2 separate regions of the Homo sapiens genome follow, and region 2 is linked to region 1. The links are contacts of gene promoters, found by promoter capture Hi-C in blood cells and fetal thymus (Javierre and others, 2016). All regions are on one chromosome and are shown on one strand. The core of a region is centred on a gene start or on the middle of the fragment in contact, and the rest is flanking DNA. Distances in the headings are between cores, read along the strand shown. Region 1 holds the start of ITK (IL2 inducible T cell kinase). Region 2 holds the start of MRPL22 (mitochondrial ribosomal protein L22).

Region 1 (6,733 bases), core at 1,189-3,688:
TCACCTCAGGAGACATACAATGTCTGGTTGTCCTTCTTTTAAGATTAATCAGTGTGTTACAGTGTTGTCAGCTTCATATGACAGTTATACATTTTCCTATTGGCTTTTTGCGTAATAATTTTAACAGCCATTGATGATCATTGCCTACATTTATTATTTCATTGGCATTGCAAAACGATAGTATTCTGTCACTCCTTCATTGATTAGTTTCTTGGAAAAAAAGAACTTCCTCATTAAATACTTGATCACTGAATTGAAAGATAATTCTTCAAGAAAAGCAAGCAATATGTTTTATTTTTTTCCTTTGTTTCCAGTTTTCAGAAAAACAAGTTGGTTCTTCAGCATCCTCCAAAAGTGATCAAAAGGTTGGGATGCTTTTTTCAATTCTCTTTTGAACTCATTGTTTTAACATTTTTGCTGTTCTTCAATTCATGGCAATTATTATTCCTTTTGATACTCAAATTGTTCCATCTTTGGCAAGTGGGAACTCCTTGAATTTGGCTCCTATGAAGTGAACTTTTTAAAACCAAAACAAACAAAGGGACTATTTGTTTTTGTTTATGTTTTCCTTAAAGTGAGAAAAAAATATTGAGCCTCCTAAGTTTGCATTTAAAAGTTGGCAAAGATGAGTCTCAGTTAGTGGGTTTGATGGCTCTATGAGAAAGAGAATAAAATTACTTACGATGACACTCCATGTAGACTGAGCAAACGAAAGACTCCTAAGTATTGCAACAGCTACTGATGATATTTTGTTTTCCCGGATGAGAACACTTTGTGAAGTCTATAACTCTTTTCATCTGAACCAAGCAGGTGTAAAATGTACTTTCCTCAGAGGAGTTTGTAGTCTAGTTTGAGAAGATAGCACTGTATTATCTAGGTTTGCTGGTAGTGACAGAAACCTCAAAATAACTGAGACTTAGAAAATAGATATTAAAAAATGTAATCCAGGGCTGGCATGGAAGATCCATGGTCACCAGGGTCCCAGGCTCTTTCTATCTTATACTCCATTGTCCTCAACATTCAATTTCCACCTCATGATACTAGATAGCTGCTTCAGCTCCAACTGTTACCTCAATATTCTAGTCACAAGGCAGGAGGAAAAGGGAAAGAAAAGGGGATGACAGATCCCACTAAGGAAATTTCCTAGAAGTTGTGCACACGACTTCTGCTACATTCAGTTGACCAGAAGACAGTCATACAACTACACCTAGCTACAAGGGAGGCTAAAATTTGTAGTCTTTATTCTTGCTGGCCAGATGCCCAGATAACTGTCAGGGATTCTGTTACTCTAGTAAGAAGGAGAGAGTAGCTATTTGGGAATAGTAGCAATCCCTACCTCAAGCCCATACTCAGAAAAAAAAAATACTATCTTGTTTGGGCAGTGTATTTCCACACATATGTCTTAAGAATCTCAGAATGGGGGAGGTAATTTAAAATATACCAGTACCGTACCCTCCTGGGTGTCTTGATTATGCTGGGGCATCCAGTATATGAAATAAAATTAGGCTGTTGTCTGGTAATTTACATTTAAAAATAAACATTGGAGAATTTCACTCCTATACAGCAATAATTATTATTTCATTTATTATTTATCCCTACCCACTACATGCAATATCTGCTTACACTAAAATCTCTTGATTATTAACATAGTAGAGGTAACTGTCACACATTATACTTCAACTATGTACTAACTCTAAGGTGACATGTATGACTAGCACCTACCATTCATAAGATGTATGGGATTCAGTCCTCCAAAGGACCCTCACAAGGAAGCTAAGGATCAGAGAAGTCATGGCTTGCTCAAAGAGAAACAGCATAGTAAGTGACAGAGCTGGGAATCCAACACAAGTTTGTCTGTTTTCAAAGCCCACATATACTTTGTTTATTATGCCATTCTGAAGGATTCACTTATTTTTCACTCTTCCACAAAACGTCAGGACAGAAAGGCAGTCATCTATATGTAGCATTGAGAAATTTCTATGGGCTTTAATTTAAATCTTAAAAACTAATAAACTTCAGCAACATATTTCTTCACTTTAATGTGTGAGGGTTTTGTGCTCATTACCTCTTTTAATTGTCCAACCCAATTTGGTGATGATCCATTCAACAAATTTTTCTTGAACATCTGTTTTATGTGTCAGGTACTGTGATGGTTGCTGAGTATATCATGGTAAGCAAAACCACACATTGTCCTTACTCCTTGTGCTACATGATTTAACTGCTGGATGGATTAAACCAGGAACTATAAAGATTAAACTGTAATCCTTACCACAATTTTGAGTTTACAGTTTTTCAAATATCATTTCAAGCCATTAGCAAAGGCTGTATGTATTTTTTACATATGCCTCCTCGTTTTGTGAATTTTGAAAGGATGTGGTTTCGGCCTTTGACATCAGAGGAGAAGCTCAGCTATGTTGGCTGAACGTTGATAGAAAGATAACGTTGAAGGCAAGTTGCCCTTGAGCAGCTCTCTGAAGATCAACTGCCTCCACATTGCATTCTTTGCCCCAAAACTCTTTCCTTTGGTTGTGCTAAGAGGTGATGCCCAAGGTGCACCACCTTTCAAGAACTGGATCATGAACAACTTTATCCTCCTGGAAGAACAGCTCATCAAGAAATCCCAACAAAAGAGAAGAACTTCTCCCTCGAACTTTAAAGTCCGCTTCTTTGTGTTAACCAAAGCCAGCCTGGCATACTTTGAAGATCGTCATGGGGTATGTGAGCAGTTTCATTTGTCTTTTTTCGCATAGCATTTTATGTTTGGACTGGGCTAATGCAAAAATATATACATAGCATAAAATAGAGCACAGGAAACACAAACATGCTTATTGTAACAACATAAAAAGTACAGTAAAAGTAATCAGAGGAGAATGCAGAGAGCAGTCAAGAGGTGAAATGGTGGTGCTAGGTGATTTCAGTTCTAAAAACTGTAAATTTAACATTCATCAGCTTTTTCCCCCTGCAAGGTTATGTTTGGTTTTTAAATTATGAATAACATTTTAGGTAGCAAGTATTATGATTCGATAAAACTTGAACTTTCTATGAAACATACTAAATTTAATGAAACATACTAAATTTAATGAAACATAGATTAATACAACACTAGCATTCAATGGGATGATCTACCCCAGCTTTCTTATTTTTTAGTGGAAGAAACTGGTGTTTAGAATGGTTAAGTTTTGGGTTCAGTGTTAACGTTTTCATGAATAACTCTGTTTGTCTCAATACTCGTCGCTAGCCTGATCTTGAAATAAGATTTCCCAGGCATTTAATTATCTAAAAGTTGTAAGGCACAATGGCAAACCTCTTCATCTCTTGATAGACTTCTTAGGACACCAGGGTTATTAAGAACAAAGTTTCTGCAGTGCAGACCAGCGGTTCTTACCCAGAAGGAGTATGGCTGCTTTGCTAGGTCAGTCTATCTCTTTATCTAAAAATAGTCTTGTGCTTCTTAACATCACTAATAACAAAAGCAACAGGAATAATCCTAATAATGTAGTTTGGTAGAAAAAGCATTGGACAAAGGGTCAGGAGACCAAACTCTACTTCTCAGTAGGTGATCCAGTCTGGGCAAATGTCTACCTCCTGTTTCAGGTTCTTTCTTCATAAAATGAAAAAACTGGAAATAACAACCTTCAAGATCCCTTTCTTCTTCAAAACTTCTTTGCTTTATGCAGTGGCTCTTGTTTAGCCCTATGCTGCAATTTTTCAAAGCATGTTTGATTTCTTACTGTATGGTTATATTATTTTTACATCATTAGTGGGGTAGGACAAGGATTATCACTTATATTTTACTGAAGGGAAAATAATATTAGGTGCCTGATGGTCACTTAGAAACAAAAGTGCTCCAGTTCTTTGTTGGAGTCTGACTTAGTAGGTGGTGGCATGAGTTTGGGATTCTTTGGTGTGCCAGGGTTTAAAGCACTTCATGAGATGGAGCTCCAGAGGAGGTCAGGCTGGGTATAGAGCCTATGGATGCCTCACTTTTTAAAGTTGCAGGTGTTGCATGTCTTTTGTGAATTAAAAAAATACAGAAAACAAAAAAGTTGCAGGCGAAATAGCTCTGCCTCTTTAGAAGTGAAAAGAATTGCTTGTCTTATTATCAGACTCTTACTGATAACAATTTACCAGTCAATCAGAAAACACATGGAATTACGTGCAAGTCCTCTTTGCTAGGTGGCCAGGAGCCCAGTTTGTGAACTTGGGGGATTTATCATGTAGAGCTAATAAATCGCATGGCATTACTCAATGCTTTTTTGTGAATGGAACATTTAAAGTTTTTGTTTCATATTGAAAGAACAGTCATGTACCTTTAAATATTTTTTTCAAAGTCCATTTTGCAGTTTTCACCAGTTCGTTTTTCTGATTCAACATAGTATCATCTCATTTAGTTAGTATTAATAATTCCTTAGCCCAACTGCTATTTGTGAACTGATTGTGAATTCAGCTCAATATTATTTGTAAGTAATCACAAAACCAGATGGCCTTAATTCAGAATATTATTGGTCATAATTTGCATGTAGACAAGGTTGTAAAATCACCCTACTTCTTTATCTGAGCATTATGGAAAATTTCAAGACAATTACTTCATTCTGGGGAGCCCTAGGCTACAGTTTCTAATTCTTCCATGTGAGATATAGAGAATACATGTCCAAACATCAAATTTCTTGTTTTCTAATGCCTTTTTTACTCTTATAAATAACATTTTAAAAGTATTTCTTTAATTATTTAATTATTATAGAAGTTTATTAATTAGAAATTTATCCAAGTTCCCTGAAAAAGGTAATATATGTGAATTATTATTGTTCATGTCTTAGGTATACTACATGGTTTCAGGCCACCAATTTGCACACAAGGCTGCATTAATATTACTCATAAGTAAATAACATTACACTTATGGGAAGAACATTTTCATTTTTAAATTAAAGGCTTCATTTTCAATCTGTAAAATGGGTGTGATAATAGTACCCATTTCATAGGAAGATGGCAAAGACTCAGAGGTATAATGTCTTTAGGCTGAACTTTTTGAAATTATTTGGCAGATCGAATATCAGATATTAGAAGTTTCAAACAATTCAACTTAATATATTAGGTACTTAGCATAGGCCCTGTCATCTGGTAAGCATCTAGTAAAAATTAACCATTATTTGTATCCCTTTCATGTCTCTACAGAAGCTAGCAGGCTGTCATAACAATTCATTTTCAAATTATGGGAGATATTCAAGGATTCTTCAAAGTCAAGCTAAGATCAGGGTCCTGGATTCCTTCTATTCTGTGGCTAAATATAAGTTTTGTGGGGTAGATATACATGCATTATGAGCTGTTTGGCCAGTTATTGCCCCTCTTAGGGTGTCGGGTGTCAGAGCTTCTTTTTCTCTTTTCTCATGTGTAAAATTATGATTCTTGCAGTTCTCATATTCTATGAATTTATAACACCATATGAAAAATAACCCTTCTACATACTCAAGAACATATTCTGTAATTCTAGAAATCAAGTATGTTTATTCTAACCTAAAAAATCATGCCTATTGTCATTATAATACTAATTGATTGAGGTTTTACTTTAACATGGTTTTAGTTCTGGTGTTCGATGCCTGTTTTTCCTGTTGAGATGTGCAAGTGTTTTCAGAGGGGCCAAGAAGCGCCTTCATCTTGCTGGAGCAGTGGGCCAGAAAGAAGCATAGATTTGGCAGGTGGTAGCTTGCAGACAGACATGATTTCAGAGGCTCTCCTGTGCCTGTCAATTTTTTTCCAAGTTGTCCCTGATGCCTGAAATTCTATGACAGAGGACAATGAGAGATAAGGGCACATGGATGTCCTGGTAAATGCTTAGGAATCCGAGTACAGGGCTTGTTGGAGAGCCCTGATTCATAGTGTTTGCCAATTCCTTTGGTGTAAATATTCCCATCATGGCCCATTTTAAACTACCAATGTGATGTCTGCTGGCTCACAGATTCCTGAAAACTTAACAATTAGCTACCTCGGGCCAGTACAAGCCGAGTCCAGCACACCGTCGGCAAGCCTAAGTACAAATGATCCTTGGAGAGGTAGCCACCAACTAAACAGCATACTTAGTTGCATGTGACTGATATCGGATCCTTTTCAGCGGTAAAGGGAAAATGGAGAGCCTCAGGCACTTTGAGTAAGCACAGGATGGAAGAGGCAGCCTAAATGGGAATAAAGCATCATAGATTGGTGTGGCTCACGTGGCCACTTTCTAGATGTGGGATCTCAGACCAGACACTTGACCTCTTTCTGCCTGTGTCCTATTTGTAAAGTAAGGACCCCAACACTACCTACTTCAAGTGATGTTGAGTATTTCATGAGAAAAGTATGTTATAAGCTTTTTACCAATTGCTACATGGTAAGGTGATTATTACTCACAATTTTGCCCAAGCACCACCTTGGTCTTCTGAAAGCCCCTCTGGAGAACTGGAAAGGTTCTCCTATTTTGATGACTCTTTGCCCCTTAGGGATCAAGTGTGCTGTGCTCCTTATGATGTGGGAGGCATTATCATTTACATGGAACAAGAGAAACAGTCAAGATCACCATTCCAGTAAGCATCTGGGTGAGGGTCTCCACTCCTCATGGCCTTTTCCCTTTAGCCTACAGTCTTATCTAGCAACAGAACCATCTCCTGCTTGCAGCAAGCATCCTTTCTAAATTAAAGATGGTAGGTGGGGAGATGGTCCCCTTTCCTTGCTTTTGAAAGCATTACTGCTAGTGATCACA
Region 2 (6,733 bases), core at 1,965-4,464, 2.2 Mb before region 1:
CTTGTTTGCATTGGGTATCTGACATTCCTGCATAGGTAGCAAACCGCAATCTGAACTACCTGTTATTCTAATACAGAGGGGTCAAATACATATATTTGAAGGCGTCTAGGGGCACAAATTTGGAGGCACCTAGTCGTAGATTGATCACTGGTTTGCCAGTTGTTAGTTGAGAGACTTTAACATATCCTAAATATGTTTCCTCATTTGAAGAAGGAAAATGATAATCCATGCCTTGTTGGATTGCTGTGAGGAATAAATGAGATTTAGTGAAATACCTGCCTGACATAAGGCAGTAAATGCCAGATGAATATAAACTCATTCTTGAAGGTCAACCAGATTAGTAGGGATTAGGACAGCATACATCATATTTGAACTATTTGCTCTTTAAAAGAGATTTTAGGCTAGGTTTCGTGGCTCATACCTCTAATCCTAGCACTTTGGGAGGCCGAGGAGGGCAGATTGCTTGAGCCCAGGAATTCGAGATCAGCCTGGGCAATTTGGGGAAACTCCTTATCTATAAAAAATACAAAAATTAGCCGGGCGTGGTGATGTGCGCCTGTAGTCACAGCTACTTGGGAGGCTGAGGTAAGAGGGTGGCTTGAGCCCGGGGTCGAGGCTGCAGTGAGACTAGGTCATTGCTACCACACTCCAGCCTAAGCGAGAGAGAGACCCTGTTTCAATAAAATGAAATAAAATAGCTTTCACACTATTTCAACTGATCTTTACAACAAGCTTGTGCCCTAAGGTTAGTCATTTCTGATAAGAAAACTGAGGACCACCGGATTAGGTGGCTTGTTCACGGATTCTGTTCCCCTACTCCTTTCTAGTTTGTGAGTTGGGACTTTAGTTTTTCTGAATCCAGGTGAATTTTCGGAAGCCCACGTGCTTTCGGCCTTTATTAATTAATTCATTCCCAAGCCAGGTTCGCCTGACCACACCTCGAGCGCCGGCCCAGTGCTTGCGATCTTCGTGACGGCACCTGGGGTGTAAGTACTGCTTGTGGGAGAGCCCCACAGGAAATCCAGAGTATTGCGCATGCGTGCTGTCCAGAAGGCGCTTGAACTCGGCGGCTTCCGTAGCGGGAGGGCGAAAGATGGCGGCGGCAGTACTGGGACAGTTGGGTAAGGATTTCTTAGTGGTTAAGCGACAGAAGGGAGTCGAGATGGAATCTGAGTTGACGGCTTGTGTTGATGTTGCAGGTGCGTTATGGATACATAACCTGAGGAGCCGGGGGAAGCTGGCCTTGGGGTGAGTCTCTCGCTTCGGAGTTTCGGAAGGGCCCAAGGCATCTTTAGTATTCTGCCAGTTGGTAACTGAGCGCCTCCGTGCCTAACTGTGTTTTAGGCTCTGGGGTTACTGAGGCGAATGAGACAGCCCGAGTCTCTGCTTTGTCACTCTATTTTTTCTCCACCTTATTGCATAAACTGTACAGGGATCAGGATTACCCATAACCCAAGGGCGATTGTAAATGCGATTTCCGAACGTCTACTGTGATCTTTCTGGACAAGGTTAGACTATTCCATCTCCATATGGAAGCGTCCAACTTTTCAAGTTACCTCTCTGATTACTTGCTTACATGGGCAGGGACCGTGTTGTGGACAACTCTGCTTTACGTCGTACCTGACATTGTGTTTAGCGGTTTATATGCTTTAACTCACTCTCATAACATTCTACGAGTAGGTTCTGCTATACCCGTTTTTCAGACAAGGAAATTGAAGTCCCCAAACGTAAAATAACTTGCCTAAGGCCACTCAGTTGTAGGAAATTTTGAAGCTTTATACCAGAGCATTCTGTAGCCTTAGGACAAAAGCATTCATTAAAGGTTAGGGTAAGTAGTCGCTGTATTTCTCCCCAAAATAAAAAATCGGTATTTGAAAATTGATAATCTGATTGTAAATTTTCTGGTCTGTCCATTTGTTAGCATTGATTTTGGTTTAGTTCATAGGCTTTGCAGACAGATGAGTTGTATATGAATCCATTTTTTAACTGTGATCTTGGAAAAGTTACTTATTCTTAATAAGCTTCAGTTATCACTTTTATGATATGAGCGTTATGTTAGTACCTATCTCTTAGGATTTAAAAAATTTTTTAATTTTTATTTATTTATTTTTTTAGATGAAGTGTTGCTATGTTGCCCATGCTGGTCTCAAACTTAAGGGCTGAAACAATTCTCTTGCCTCAGCCTCCTGAAGTACTGGGATTACAGGCACATGCCATCTATGTAGCTCTAGTAGATTTTAAAAAGGAAATTCAAACAAGATAATGCATATGAAGTATTTAGTATGTTTATGGCATGTGATAATCCCACTCTGAATTCTAGTTGCCATTAATGTTTTTATTATTATAAATTATTACTGAGTTCCCAATTATATTTAACCCTTTTCTAAGTTTTTGGGTCCGAGGGGGATAAAGAGGTGGGCTAAAGAAGAAAATAGGAAGTAGTAGCTCTTAGGATTTGTCTGTACTCTTCTTAGATAATCTTCTATCACTCTTCCCCCAACCATGCTGATTTACTTACTTTTTCTGAATATACTTTGCACTTACTTGCTTCTTGGCTTTTCCTACTATGCCCTCACATCTTGTCTATAACAGCAGTCCTACCCATTATTCAAACCTCTGTTCAGATGTTTTCCCTTCAGGAAGTTTTCACTGGTTTCTCTAAAACGGAAAGAAATTAGTTTTTCCTTCCTTTTAGCATGTGTGCCTTCTATGATGACTTCATGTATATGTGTATGTGCCCTTTACTAGCTTGTGTATCTTGGAGAAGTAGGGACATTTATTTATTGTTGTACCTCCAGCATAAGGTCTTACACAGGCAAGTATTTTGATGTTGATTTGAATTGTCTTGCACCAACTTGTATTAAGAAGCTCTGAGCAAGAAACTTAAGCAGTTTGCCTTTAGTCTTTTCCTCTATGTCATGATACAAGAGTGTTTGATTTTGCTAGATAATCTCTAAGGCTATTTGCAATTCTGAAGTTATTACATAATTTTGTGAATCCTTATTTTGGATTTTCTAGTGGGGAAAATGACCATAAGAAAACTAAGTAGAAAGGTATAAATAATGTTCATGATAACCATGTAAAATTTTAGCATATAATCTGATTCAGTGATGAGAAACTTTTTTTTCCTTTTTTTTTTGGAGACACGGTCTCGCTCTGTGCCTAGGCTGAAGTGCAGTGCTGTGATCATAGCTCACTGCAGCCTCAAACTCCCGGGCTCCCACCTCAGCTTCCTAAGTAGCTAGAACTACAGGTGCATGCCATCACACCTGGCTAATTTTTAGGGTCTTGCTGTGTTGCTCAGGCTGGTCTCTAACTCCTGGGCTCAAGTGATCCTCCTGCCTTGGCCTGGAGGGATTACAGGCATGAGCCGCCAGGAAACTTAATTGCATATAGGCCCCAGACTAGAAATAAATAAACTAAGGGAAGTTGTCTATGTAAAATGAGAGTGGGAGGGCCTGTGGTGGTCAGTAGAGTGTATTCCTCATCTAAAAACATTGAATTAGGTTAAGAAAACTGCTGCTGACCAAATAAAACATTTCTGCAGGATATATATATATATACACACATATATGCACATATATACATATATACACATATATATACATATATACACATACATACATGTATATACACACACATATATATATAGATATTAAAATTTTTTTTTTTTTAAAGACAGCGTTTTGCTGTGTCACCCAGGCTGGAGTGCGGTATCATGATCATAGCTCACTGCAGCCTCGATTCAAGCCATCTTCCCAACTCAGCCTCCCAAGCAGCTGGGATCACAGGCGTGCACTACTACACCTGACTTTTTTTTGAGTTTTAGTAGAGACAAAGTCCTGTTATATTGCCCGGCTGGTCTGAAACTCCTGGGCTTAAGTAATCTCCCACCTCAGTCTCCCAAAGTGCTGGGATTACTCTGTAGGCTATATTTGTTAGCTGACTGACAGTTTTCAGTTTTTGAATTCCAAGTCTCCTATTTTACTGATGCATACATTTGAGAAGTTTTGTGACTTACTGAAGGTTACACAGTTAAATGTCAAAGTGAGGATCTAAACAAAATATTTTCTGGGACTACAGGTGCAGGCCGCCATACCTGGCTAAGTTTTGTATTTTTAGTAGAGATGGGGTTTCACCATGTTGGCCAAGCTGGTCTCAAACTCCTAGGCTCAAACGATCCGCCCGCTTTGGCCTCCCAAAGTGCTGGGATTACAGGCATGAGCCACCACGCCCAGCCAAAAAAATATTTTTTTTTAGGAGACAGAGTCTCACTATGTTGTACAGGCTGGTCTCGCACTCTTGGGCTCAAGTGATCTTCCCACCTCAGGCTCCCGAGTCTCTGGGATTACAGACGTGAGCCACCAAGCCTGTCTGTACCACCCTTTAGATGGGGGCATATCCTCTTAAGCTTTCCTCAGTTTCCAACCATGTGTAAAATTTTGGCATAGTTATTTACACTCAGTCCTCTTACCTTACCTGTCTCTGTATTCTTTCATTGATTCTACAAATATGTATTTAGTGCCTGCTCTGAGCTGGGAACTATTCTAGCACTGAGGATTTTGCAGGGAACAGGAACAGACAATAATCCCTTGCCATTGTGGGGTGTACAATATAGTAAGGGGGGCAAATAAGCAAAATAAGTAAAATATAGAGTATATTAGATAGTGACATCTGCTTATGAGAAAATAAAGCAGAGATTGAGAATAAGAAGTATGTGTGTTTGAGAGAGGAACTTGTAGTTTTAGATAGGGAAGGCCTCACTAAAAGATAATCTTTGAGTAAAGATTTGAAGGAAATGAGGAAGCATGCTGTGCTAACATCTGAACAAACAGCATTCTGTGCAGATAGAATAGTAAGTGCAACAGCTCCAAGGAACCATATCTGGTGTCAGGAACAATGACAAAAAGGAGAGGGATAGTGATAGGAGATGAGGTCAGAGAGGAAGGGGCAGTCATAAATCATATAGAGCCTTATTATTTTTTGTAAATACTTTGGCTTTTATTCTGAGCAAGATGGGAAACTGTTGTAAGGTTTTGAGCATGGAGTTATATGATCTGACTTATGTTTATGAGTGGTTCTTTCTGGCTGCTGTGTTGAGAATAGACTGGGGTGGGGATGGGGAGCAAGGATGGAAGCAGAGACCGTTGGCTATTTCAGGTATGAGATCATGGTGGCTTGGATTAGGGTGGCCGTGAAGGTAAGTGAATGGTTGGATTCTGGCAGTATGTTAACCACACCTGACAGATCTTGTTGATGCATTGGATGGGAGGTGTGAGAAAGAAGGGTGACACCAAAGTTTATGACCTGAGCAACTGGAAGGGTAGAGTTAACCACTTACTGAGCTAGGAAGACTTCCAGAGGAGCAGGTTTGGGGAGAATATTAGTAGGTCACTTTTGGGTTTGTTAAATCTGAGCTGTTGTAAGCATCCAAGTAGAGATACGAGTAGGCAATTGGGTATATGAGTTTATAGAGTTCAGGGAACGGATGTACATTTGGGAGTCATCAATGCATGGATAATGTTTAAAGCTGCAAAGCTGGTTGACTTCACCAAGGGAGTGAGTGTAGATAGAAAGAGTCCGAGGATTGATTCCTGCCTAAGGCAGCCAATATTACAGACCAGGGAGGGAGACAAGGAAACAACAAAGGAGACTGTGGGGGAGTGGCCAGAGAGGGGAGAAGAAAACCCCAAGTGTCCTGGAACCCAATTAAAGAAAGTGTCTCAAGGAAGAGTGAGTGACCAGAGATACTTAGGTCACTCTCAGATGAGGACTGATAATTAGAATTAGAATTTGTCTGTATTTTCTGTTTTAAGGTTGCTTCATTTTGTTTTAATTGAGTGTTATTCCAGCAATTGGCCAGGAGAGGGCACATAGGAACTTTTGATTTGATATTCTGTGCTTCTAAATTAAGAACCCCATTTGGAATAATACTTTAATTTAATTTGATTATAGTAGTTTGGTCTTTGCTTGATAATTCAGTTCATGAATTATTTGAGTCCTGAAAGTATTATAAGAATTCAGAAAGCTTTGACATTATTAATTCATAGTATGTTTAATTTATGAAGCAACATATTTAATTCACCAAATATGTATTGAAGATTTGAAGAGCGCAAGGTACTGTGCTAGGCGGGTACAGCAGGTATGGGCCTGACTCAAGAAATCTTTCAGATTGGTTTGTAGCAAAGGGGTTCATGTTTCTGTCATGCTGTTGGTGATGAGATTAGAGATAGAATTAAGGTTAGGAGAGGCCTTATAGATGATGTAGTCTAATTCCTCTTTTCACAGACAAAGAAACCAAGGTCCAAAGAGGTGACAAACATAGTGTACCCTACTCGCTAATTACAACTACATAGAACCATAAACGTTTATGATTATAAACTTGAGAAAAAACTTTGAAATTGTGTATTTAAAGCTTACAGTTCACAGGACTTATTTGGGGGCTGGGGACAGGAGAGATTAACTGTTCAAAGGGCCTAACTTTGTTTTATTTTTTATGCCCTTAAAAAAAGAAACACGGGTGTGGTGGCTCACACCTGTAATCCTAGCACTTTGGGAGGCTGAGATGGGTGGATCACCTGAGGTCAGGAGTTCAAGACCAGCCTGGCCAACATGGTGAAACCCCGTCTCTACTAAAAATACAAAAATTAGCCAGGTGTGGGGTGCGGTGGTGCGTCCCTGTAATCCCAGCTACTTGGGAGGCTGAGGCAGGAGAATCGTTTGAATCCAGGAG

Evidence for each region. Contacts are between HindIII fragments. The CHiCAGO score rates a contact against its expected background, and 5 or more counts as called.
Region 2: a fragment that was not itself captured here is called in contact with the fragment with the promoter of ITK in region 1 in 2 of 17 cell types (total CD4 T cells and fetal thymus); the score reaches 5.9 in total CD4 T cells.

The regions. Positions count from the first base shown.
Region 1 is chr5:157,178,402-157,185,134 of GRCh38, forward strand. ITK (IL2 inducible T cell kinase) reads left to right here and starts at 2,439. Exons shown (of 17, transcript NM_005546.4): 1 at 2,439-2,714. The coding sequence starts at 2,577. The HindIII fragment of the contact is 39,229 bases long and covers 1-6,341 here.
Region 2 is chr5:154,940,018-154,946,750 of GRCh38, forward strand. MRPL22 (mitochondrial ribosomal protein L22) reads left to right here and starts at 1,056. Exons shown (of 7, transcript NM_014180.4): 1 at 1,056-1,121; 2 at 1,200-1,248. The coding sequence starts at 1,094. RefSeq lists an enhancer at 996-1,155. The HindIII fragment of the contact is 2,390 bases long and covers 2,020-4,409 here.